Linked DNA regions of Homo sapiens: all the other regions are linked to region 3. The links are contacts of gene promoters, found by promoter capture Hi-C in blood cells and fetal thymus (Javierre and others, 2016). All regions are on one chromosome and are shown on one strand. Each heading gives the region's core, a stretch centred on a gene start or on the middle of the fragment in contact. The rest is flanking DNA. Distances are from core to core; before and after follow the strand shown.

What was found. Contacts are between HindIII fragments. The CHiCAGO score rates a contact against its expected background, and 5 or more counts as called.
Region 1: a fragment that was not itself captured here is called in contact with the fragment with the promoter of SERPINB13 in region 3 in 2 of 17 cell types (megakaryocytes and endothelial precursors); the score reaches 7.1 in megakaryocytes.
Region 2: a contact is called between a fragment that was not itself captured here and the fragment with the promoter of SERPINB13 in region 3, in 7 of 17 cell types (megakaryocytes, M2 macrophages, M1 macrophages and 4 more). The highest score is 8.5, in megakaryocytes.

The regions. Positions count from the first base shown.
Region 1 is chr18:63,809,430-63,812,818 of GRCh38, reverse strand. No RefSeq gene overlaps it. Among named protein-coding and RNA genes, the nearest start is that of SERPINB7, 36 kb to the right of the region's middle. The HindIII fragment of the contact is 276 bases long and covers 1,383-1,658 here.
Region 2 is chr18:63,827,889-63,831,066 of GRCh38, reverse strand. No RefSeq gene overlaps it. Among named protein-coding and RNA genes, the nearest start is that of SERPINB7, 54 kb to the right of the region's middle. The HindIII fragment of the contact is 3,657 bases long and covers 1-3,178 here.
Region 3 is chr18:63,585,446-63,588,668 of GRCh38, reverse strand. SERPINB13 (serpin family B member 13) reads right to left here and starts at 1,326. Exons shown (of 8, transcript NM_012397.4): 1 at 1,219-1,326; 2 at 1-18. The coding sequence starts at 1. RefSeq lists an enhancer at 1-40. The HindIII fragment of the contact is 1,527 bases long and covers 990-2,516 here.

The sequences.
Region 1 (3,389 bases), core at 271-2,770, 220 kb before region 3:
ACTACAAATCAGCTGCAGCCCCAACTCAGAGACCAATACTGTGTCTTCAAATATTAGAACTAAAGGCCTTAGAAAGCATTTCTTCAGGGATTTGGGATTCCAACTAAGAAATTCCAACAGTGATCCAGAATACATATTCAAGTGTTTTACAAAAAAACTTCTGCTAACTACTACTACTAATGCATTCTGATATTTCCTTTTCTACTGTATTATTTTATATTTTTAAAACACTGGTGGCAATTCTCTAAATTGTTTTTACAACCTACAGATAGGTTCCATCCCAACATTACAAAACACTGATATGGCCCAATTACCTCATGTTTTTTCGCTTATTATTATTATTTATTTATTTAAAGATGGTATCTTGCTCTGTCACCCAGGCTGGAGTACAGTGGCATAATCATAGCTCACTGCAGCCTTGAACTCCTGAAAGCAATCCTCCCTCCTCAGCCTCCTGTGTAGCTGGGACTACAGACATATGCCACCATACTCAGAGCACTTTTCAAAATGTTTTTTTTTTTTTTGTCAAGATGAGGTCTCTCTATGTTGCCCAGGCTAGTCTCCAACTCCTGGCCTCAAGCAATCCTCCTGCTTGGCCTCCCAAAGTGCTGGGATTATAAGCATGAGACACCATGAACAACTTCATTTTTCAAAAGAAGAATTAAGCACTAGGTAAGTCCTTTAACATAGTGCATGGATAGAAAGGATGGCCTGGTGTGGTGGCTCACATCTGTAATCCCAGCATTTTGGGAGTGGATGGATCAACTGAGGTCAGGAGTTCAAGACTAGCCTGGCCAGCATGGTGAAACCCCATCTCTAATAAAAATATAAAAATTAGCCAGGTGTGGTGGCACATGCCTGTAATCCCAGCTGAGGTAGGAGAATCACTTGAACCAGAGAGGCAGAGGTTGCAGTGAGCCGAGCTTGTGCCACTGCACTCCAGCCTGGATGACAGAGCAAGACTCTGTCTTAATAAAAAACCAAAAAAAGAAAAAAAGAAAAAAAAAGATTAGTCTTCTCAAATTGTTCAGTGCATAGCAGTTAACTTCTATAAGGGATAATTTTGTGTGTTTGTGTCCAATTGACCAACAGAAGATCCTATCTGTATGTTGATATTAGGCATCTTGATTGAGTTGTTTCATTTCATCTGTATTCCTTAAGAAGTTTTGTCTTTCATTTGACCCCTGTAAATTAAACAACTATATCCTGAACATATTTTTCTCTAAAATTAAAGATACATATTTTTGACTTTCTCATAAAGAATATCCCCAACAAATTATTAGCTAACACTAATTGGGTGTAATTAAAATCAAAGCCAGGCACTCATATTAACTCCTTTTAATCAAATTGCGCATGTATAAACATATACAGAAAGAAAAGCTTCTACTTTTTAAAAGGGAATCCAAACTATGGACATCTACAGAGGAAGAAGAGGTTAATTAATGGAAGAAAAAGATTCATGGAAATAAAAAGTAAAGAGAAAAGGCAAGATTTAGATATTTGTATTTTCATAAAATGAGCCTGATTTGTATAAATAATGTAAAAATAGGCACAAAGTATAGTTACAAAGGAAACTAACCCAATAGTTTCCTTTATAAAACTTTATGTAACTTGATAGTAAATATTACAAAATTATTGTACACACAAGAGTAAAAGCTTAAGTTATGGTTTTCAGAAAACAGAAATGACAAATGCCTTCCCTCTCAAACAATTAAGCACTGTTTGGCTTTACCCTAAGGAGTGTGAAAAGAAATGGCACAGAAGCCAGTAGAAAAATGCCTAATGGTTCGCTTGTTTCTGAAATTTTCAAAAGGGGAAGGGAAAAAAAAGGAAACAAACTAATCATTTACGACGTTAGTGAGAGACATCCAGGATGCATGGTCTATATTCTCAAGAAGACCTAGCTCTTTCAGAGAGCCAACTCACCTCACTGAAACACTCCAAATACCAGTACCCACTTCTAGCAAAGGAGCCATTTAAAACAGAGACAGGAGGCATGGGATCACTCGTTGAGGAGCTAAGGACTTGTGTGGAAACACTTGAGTAAGAAAAGGGGACAGTATTCATCTTGCTCTGGAGAGAGATGAACTATAAAACAACTATTAAAATCGTCTCTAGGCTCAAAGAAACACACCTTGAATCAGTCCAGCAGTTTGAAGAACCTGACTTCTCTCATCTACAGTCTTAAGGAGGATTTGGATTCAAGGACAAAGAGGGAAAAAAAAGGAATTCATAATGAAAGAATAAATGCTATCAACTTCTCAAAGACCCTGATGCCTCTAGAGACACTGTTCTCTGATAGACCCAAGGAACAGATACTTTTTAAAAGGTTAATATTCACTAAATGTCTAGTCACAGAACCAGAGGTTATTTGCAAAGAGGTGGCTGGGTGTGGTCAATGACATCTATGGTATTATCTTTAATGAAACATTTACCGGTTTCTCTTGCCTATAAAGTCTATTGTCTATAAAGACTCTAATTAATAGTTACGAGTGAGGTGGTGCATCCCTGCCTATTGTGCAGGATGTTTAAAGGCACAGATCATCCTAGAGCCCTAGTCCCATAGAAAGTGCATCTATCTAGTGGTCCATGGCTCTTACACTTCACTTTCTTTGTGCTACGATGGATGGTTCCCATCCGGTATGCCCTAATTTAGGTATAAGTGACAGGGATTTGTAACCTAGGGAATCTATGAATGGGATTCAGGAGCTCTTTGAACTTCTTAAAATTATATACCTAAATTCTTTCGTGTGCATTTTTGGATACCCCTAAATCTGATTTTCAAAAGGAGTGCTTAGTTCAAAAGTAAAGAACCGTTACAATAACAGCTCCAGTGGCCTTACAGGGATGCCCCTGCCATCCAGCTTCTCCCCTTCTTCTGTCTTCCCCTCCCCTCTGCTCTGGCTGGTGATGTTACAGTTGTTTAAAGATTGTGAAGTTGAATCTTGAGAAGTCCTCCCCTTTTACTGCCACATTCATCCAGTCGTTCACAGAGTCCTGACCAGTCAGGCTGCCTCCCAAATCTGTCACCTTCATTCACTATGCGCATTCCCAAGACCCATCTTCTAGGTTAGGCCACCATCGCTTCTCACCTGGACCACTGTCCATTTCTCCCTGTCAAGTCTCGTAACACTCTAGCCCCATGCCCACAAATCAGCAAACACAACCCTTCAGAAATTCAAAGCAGAGAGGTTCACTCCTCTCCTTAGAGCCCTTCAATGCCTTTGCAGTCATCTTAGAACCAAAGCAAACTCTTCATCCTACTGTCCAAGGCCCTCTGTGGCCTGCCTACTGCCCCTCCCCAACCCACCTTTCACTGCGCTTATGCCCTCTACATCCTTGCAGGAATCCGAGGAGACTGTATTCTCTCACTGTGGGCCCTGGATCAT
Region 2 (3,178 bases), core at 354-2,853, 240 kb before region 3:
GACTACAAAAGTAAAAACAGTGAAATAATAAAGCCAATCTCTTTCTTTTGCTATTTAGGACATAGAAAATTTATGTTTATTTTCATCCTCCAAAATTGCCTACAGTTGGTGGCAAAAGAAAACCATCCATCCGTCTTTAGAAATACCTACGATTGAACGTTATTTTGATGACATAAAGAGGGGAGGAACCTAAACAAAGCTGCTACTAAAGTCCAAAGTATTCAAGTTCCCCAATATATTAATTTCATTCAGGTGTACTTTTTTGACTTCCAGATGCAGTTAATTCACTTCAAAGGGCTGGGAAATACCCACACCATAAGATCTTACCAGGATAACCATTTTTAAAGGACAAATAGGTCCTTTCAAGAGCATAATTTAGAAGTCTCTCCAGCTCGAGTAAAATCTGACTAATCTTAACTAGTCAGCAGCATTGAGCTGATTCTGATAATTTCTGGAGTTACAAAATAGCTAAGAATGTGACAAAGCACTAGGTGAGCTCTCATAATTGGACTACTTTAAGGAAATTTTGTTATGACCATAATGATACTTTATGTTTTTATCTTTGAAATGCTAGTTAACAGGTATATACACCTGCATTGTGTATATAAGCCAAATGGATGAGATTTTTCTGTGAAATAAAATATTCTGTTTTGTTAGCTGCTTTCTCTAGCAAATCTATTTGCTGTGGGGTATGCTTACCCCTTTGAGCATCTCTTTATGAATCCTGCTAAAATAGCCCATTTTCTACATACTGTGATTCCCCAACCGGGCTGATCCTTGGAAGGACCTAAGGGGCTCTTTGAAAATATGTATACTCAAGTTCATCATGCAAATCAGAGTCCCCAGGAAGGTGGCCCTAGAATCTGTATTTTCAAAAATCACAGCCATAACATCTATATAATTTATTGTTCATTTTATAACCTCAAAATGTGAATGTGATGGTAATATTCTTTGTAAGGGCATTACTACATACTTCCAGATATGACTAATGTGTTTGGCTAGAGGTTTATGTTTCTCCTTAATTTACTACTTATTTTATATGAAAAGTATTTATTCAGAAATAGAAAGTCTATTCTTACAGTTGACAAGAACAAATTTTAAATTTACTTGTAATTTCAAGCATTCCTTGGTGGGCTGGAATAAATGCATTTGATAGCACAGTGGCTTAGTTATTATATACAGATCAATTCTTTCTTGTTAAATAACATGTCTTATTTTGGTTGTGGCCTGATATTTGGGACATTTTTGACACTTAGAAAAGTTGGGAAGGCTGAGGGTGCTAAGTAGAAGGGCAGTAAGCCTAGAACCTTCCACCTTGACTGTGCATTTTGTTCACCAGTTCAGCTTGGCTTTGTAGGGAGATCAAACTCATTTTAGAAGTGACCTGCCTGGTGCAGCAAACCACCATGGCACATGTATACCTAGGTAGCAAACCTGCACATTCTGCACATGTATCCCAGAACTTAAAGTATAATTTTAAAAGAAGTGATTTGCCTGTTAGTTCCTCAGTTGTCTCTTGCTGTTATTTTCTATTGCCTGACCTTATTTCCAGTTAGCAAGAGGTAAGTGGCTTGATAATAGTTTAAGTGGTCTTAACCAAGACTTATTTTAAATACTTTCAAAGTCTATATTTCATAGCATTTTTCAATTGTACAACTGCATTGCTAAAATAGAATTTCTATTTTTATACAGGGTAAAAAACAGTGGAAAATTTTAAAGAAAGGTTCAACAAAAAAATAAATATTTTATAAATCAAAATCTGCTTTTTATTGCAAATGTAGCTAGGATAGCCACTTGGAAATTAATTTGCTTCCCTAAGGCCAGAAATAATTTAGCAGTTCTTAAGGACAAAAATTTTGAGGATTACTTTTAAGAGATAAACAAATTAAGCCATGAGACTACATGAGACCACCTCATCCAACGTGAAAGCCATTGCTTTTGTTTGGTCTTTCTGAAGTGCATTTTTCTGGTTCTCTCTGAAGGAGATGGCATTAACCAACACCAGCTGATTGGGAGATATGAGGCTGTGGGGTGATAAGAGATCCTAGATTTCACCCGTGGGAAGTGAAACAAAGCAAGACCATACTTAATCAACAATTGAATATGAATTATTTTCACTGGTTTTGTTTTGACTTTAGATCTATTTTTAACTGGCATATATAATTAACACCAGATATCTTCATATGAACCAAAAACAAGACTTTTGAGCAAATATGTAAAGCATTCCCAATTATATAATGGACAAGGAATGTGGAAGATGCAGAAGAAAAGAAAGTGAGTGTATAGCCTATTTATCTATTTTATAGAAACATGCAAAATTGTGGATGAAATTTTCTTGTCATACTGTTAATAAATGTTATACTGTTAATGTGTCTTTGTTTTTCTACCTTCAGTAAAATCCTTGACTAATAATAATGACATGGAGCAAAAACTCAAATGTAAAATAAAAGACAAAATCTTCTGAGAAAATCTAGCATATTTTCTTACATGTACATTTGCATGTACCCTATGACCCAGCAATTCCACTAGTAGATATTTATTTAACAGGAGTGAAAGAATATGTACTCAAAAAGCCTTTTACAGGAATATTCACAGCAGCATTATTCATAATAGCTAAAGAAATACCTGAGACTGGGTAATTTATAAAGAAAAGAGATTAATTGGCTTACAGTTCTGAAGGCTGTACAGGAAGCACAGTGGCTTCTGCTTCTAGGGAGGCCTCAGGAATCTTCCAGTCATGGCAGAAGACAAAGAGGGAGTGAGGCGTCTCACATGGCAGGAGCAGAAGCAAGAGAGAGAGATGGGGGAGGTTCTACTCACTTTTAAATGATCAGATTTCATGAGAACTCACTATCGTGAGAATAGCACCAAGGAGATAGTGCTAAACCATTCATGAGAAACTGCCTCCATGATCCAATCACCTCCCCCCAGGCTGCACCTCCAACGCTGGGGATTACAATTCTACGTGACATTTGGTGGAGACACAGATCAAAACCATATCATAAACTCTGAAAAATTCATGCTTCAGCTGGGTCTGCCTAAAGTATGATTGAAGTTGTTACAAGCTAGCAACTGAAAGTTAGAATCCTAAACTCTTTTGTATTTTATATGAAACAAAATGCATGTATAAAATATATTTTATATTCTATATTAGCATGTATTTATCTATCTGTAATAT
Region 3 (3,223 bases), core at 77-2,576:
TGATGATTTTAGCGAGACCTAGAATAGCAAGAACAACAATCAAAACTGAACATTTGAATTACTCTGTGTCAGGGGAATCCTTTCTGCTTCTATTCCTCTTCTTGCATCGATCCGGAATACAGGGATTTCCACCCTTTTGGTGAAAGGTCGCTGCTGCCTGCTTCTCACGTCCTCTCTTGGCCTTCTCTTGCTGGGAGACATCCATCAATCTACTGGAGTCTTCCGTCATCCGGTGGTGCTCAGTTCTTATTTCCCCGCGGAGCAGGGTTAATGTTTTAATGGCTTTATTCTCTTGCTCTCTGTCTGACCCTGCCTGTCTCTGCCTCTCCACAGCCTCCTCTTCATGGAAGCTTCCCCAGGTAGACCCAGCCCTTGTCCAGGCGACACCAGTTTGTCCAGATGTGGGGCCCATGATAAGGCAGGGGGGTAGGCACAAGAATCTCCACGGGCCTCAAGTTCAAACAGTGCTCTCAGATCCAACCTTAGCAATAATTAAGCCGAGACTTGAATCCTTATCTGATACTATTTCTCAATTGATTCAAAATTCAGCCCAGAGAGTGACAGGATTGATTAAATCTCTTAAACCCCTTTCCCTAACTGCATACAAACTTGACTCTGGGCTGAATTTTTCTGAAGCAGAAACCACATATCTCTGGTCATGAATTATTAGGTGGAGATGAAAGGGTTTTCTTTTTTATACTTTTCTGTATTGTTTTAGGCTTGTACATGAGCTTGCATTACTTTTGTCATTTCACAAAAATAGTTTTTAAAGAGCAATTAATATTTGCCAAAAATAAATAGGTAGAACTGTTTTTATGTTTGCTTCATTACCAACTACTTTAAAACTAGTAAGTAAAGGCTTTAGGAGGAATCCTAAAACAAGAATAAGATTAATGAAAAATAAAGTTTTTTAAAGCCCACATACTTTGGGGCCTTTTGCCCTCAAGGGCTCATCCCCGCTAAGGCATCCCACATCTGATATCAAAGCTTTCATTTCAACCTCAGGTTTCCTTGCAGAGATCCTTTACAGGTTAACTCAGAAATAAAATGGATTAATTTACTGTCAAAGAAGATACATTGTCATGGCCATGTTGGAACTGAATTAAATAAAACTACCTCCAGAAAGTCTATGCAAAATAAAAGTAATTCTTTCAAACAACAAACATCATTGTTCTCAAAATACAGAGGTCTTAAATTGGAGCCAAAATAAGAACTTACCTCGGGTTTTTGGAGAGACGGTGGTGGCTGGGCAACGAACTAGGAAGCATAAGTCAATTAAGTAGCTGGGATCCTTAATTTATAGTTCTCCACATCTGCTTCAGCAGTGGTTTTCCACCTTGCGTGCACCTTAAAATCTCCTTGGAACTTTAAAAAAAATCTATGCCCAAGCCCCACCCCAGACCAACTGAGTCAGCATCTCTCGAGTGGAAACCAGGCATCAGAATTTTTATCACCGCAGGTGATTACAATGTACAGCCAACGCTGGGAACCAAAGGTGTATAGCCTGATGAACACATACATTAAATGCATACTTTACTTACCACAGATGGACAGAGCTGTGTCCTGACAAGTCATTCTCTGTAACAGAGTTATTTTTGCATTTGCATTATTTAGGAGTGCCAAATGCCAGGAAGAAAATGAAAGAAAACTATCTTGCTACAAAGGAACAAGAAAAAAGAACAAGAAAAGTTTGGGTAGGCAGCCACACACAAGCGAGCATGCGCACACACACACACGCACACACACATACACACACACACCTATTATTCTCAAGTATTCCATCCATTAATTGTAAAATATCTCATTTTAATTCATTCAATAAACATTTATCAAGTCTATTATGTACCAGGTACTGTGTCTAATGCCAATAATTCATAAGCACTCAATATCCTCACTGATTTCAGGAAAACAACACTACCAAAAAAACTCAATAGGAAATTACACCCCCAGATTCCAGTTTTTCCTGCCAACCCTGGAGCATTTCTACTGGCCCTACCAGTTCATTAAAAGAAACTGTGCTTGGATTAGTCTTAGCTTTAATCTTCAGTAAAGGGCGTGGAGATTTGCCATCGTTGCTGGGCAGCAGCTCCTAGAAGGGTGTCTTAGCTCTTCCTTCTGCCTAGAGGAACACCTCCCTAGATACGCAGGCTCGAAGGGCATATGGGTCATGTGTGTTCCAATCTCCATACTCACAATTTACTTTTTTCAAAATATTTTGATTGCTGCTCTTTAAGCAAACTCAAAGCCACATTTAGTTGATTTGCTTTTTAATAGGCACTGAGAATCTTGCAAATTGAGTAAGGTTTAGAAAGAATTAACACTTAGTGAACCCTGGATGCCAGTGAAATGGAAATGTTAGTTTTTTAAAATGGCATAAAATCTCTGAGTCGGCCATAATGCTTTATGTTTTAATATCCCTATCCATTTATATCTTCTTATTTCTTTCTCTGTGGCCCCTAGACTTCCTGTTCTATTGCCCAGCCATTTCCACAGGCCTTCTGCTTTTTGCTAAAGCTTTTGCTCTACCACCTGCTTTCACCGGGAAACCTGGCATGTCCTGAGGACTACTACATCCCATAGTCTTTTCTGGGAACGGCCACTCATATCTTGGGAAAGCAAAGTCACCATTCCTATTCTCCCTCGCACTCCCTCTTCTTCCAAGTCTTTCTTCCTTCAGTCACCTTCAATGCTCCCCTTTGGAAACTTAGACCATCACGCTGTGCTGCTCTGTCCCCAACCACAGGTCCCTCCGTGACTCTGCATATGGTCTTCCTGTCCACCCCAGCTGCTACCGCCACCCTGTACCACTTCACCATTCCTGTTGCCAGCGCCTCTCACTTCTCGGACCTTCACCTTCCCTCTTTTATAGTGGCCCACTCACACCAGGAACTGCTCTTGTTTAACACTCAAGCACCTCCATCTGGTGACAGATTCTCATCCTTATTCTCTCTAAACCTAATTTTCAACGCCTTCCCAACCTCTTATCACAGGACTCCTCCCTGTTCTGTTTTATCCATCTCTTCTTTCTAGGATCAAAACTGCCCCAGAGGTGGAATATATGTTGATGATTAAGAACCATTTAAAAAATGATTTCTATGCTAACAAGTGAGGAGAAGAAAGTTATCCCCTGAAGCAGAGTATTGATAGGTTCCCAACCCTGTTCCATAGCTCATAGTTTTGTTCCAACTTCTGTGTGTCTGTTACTGATACTGACTTGTAATAT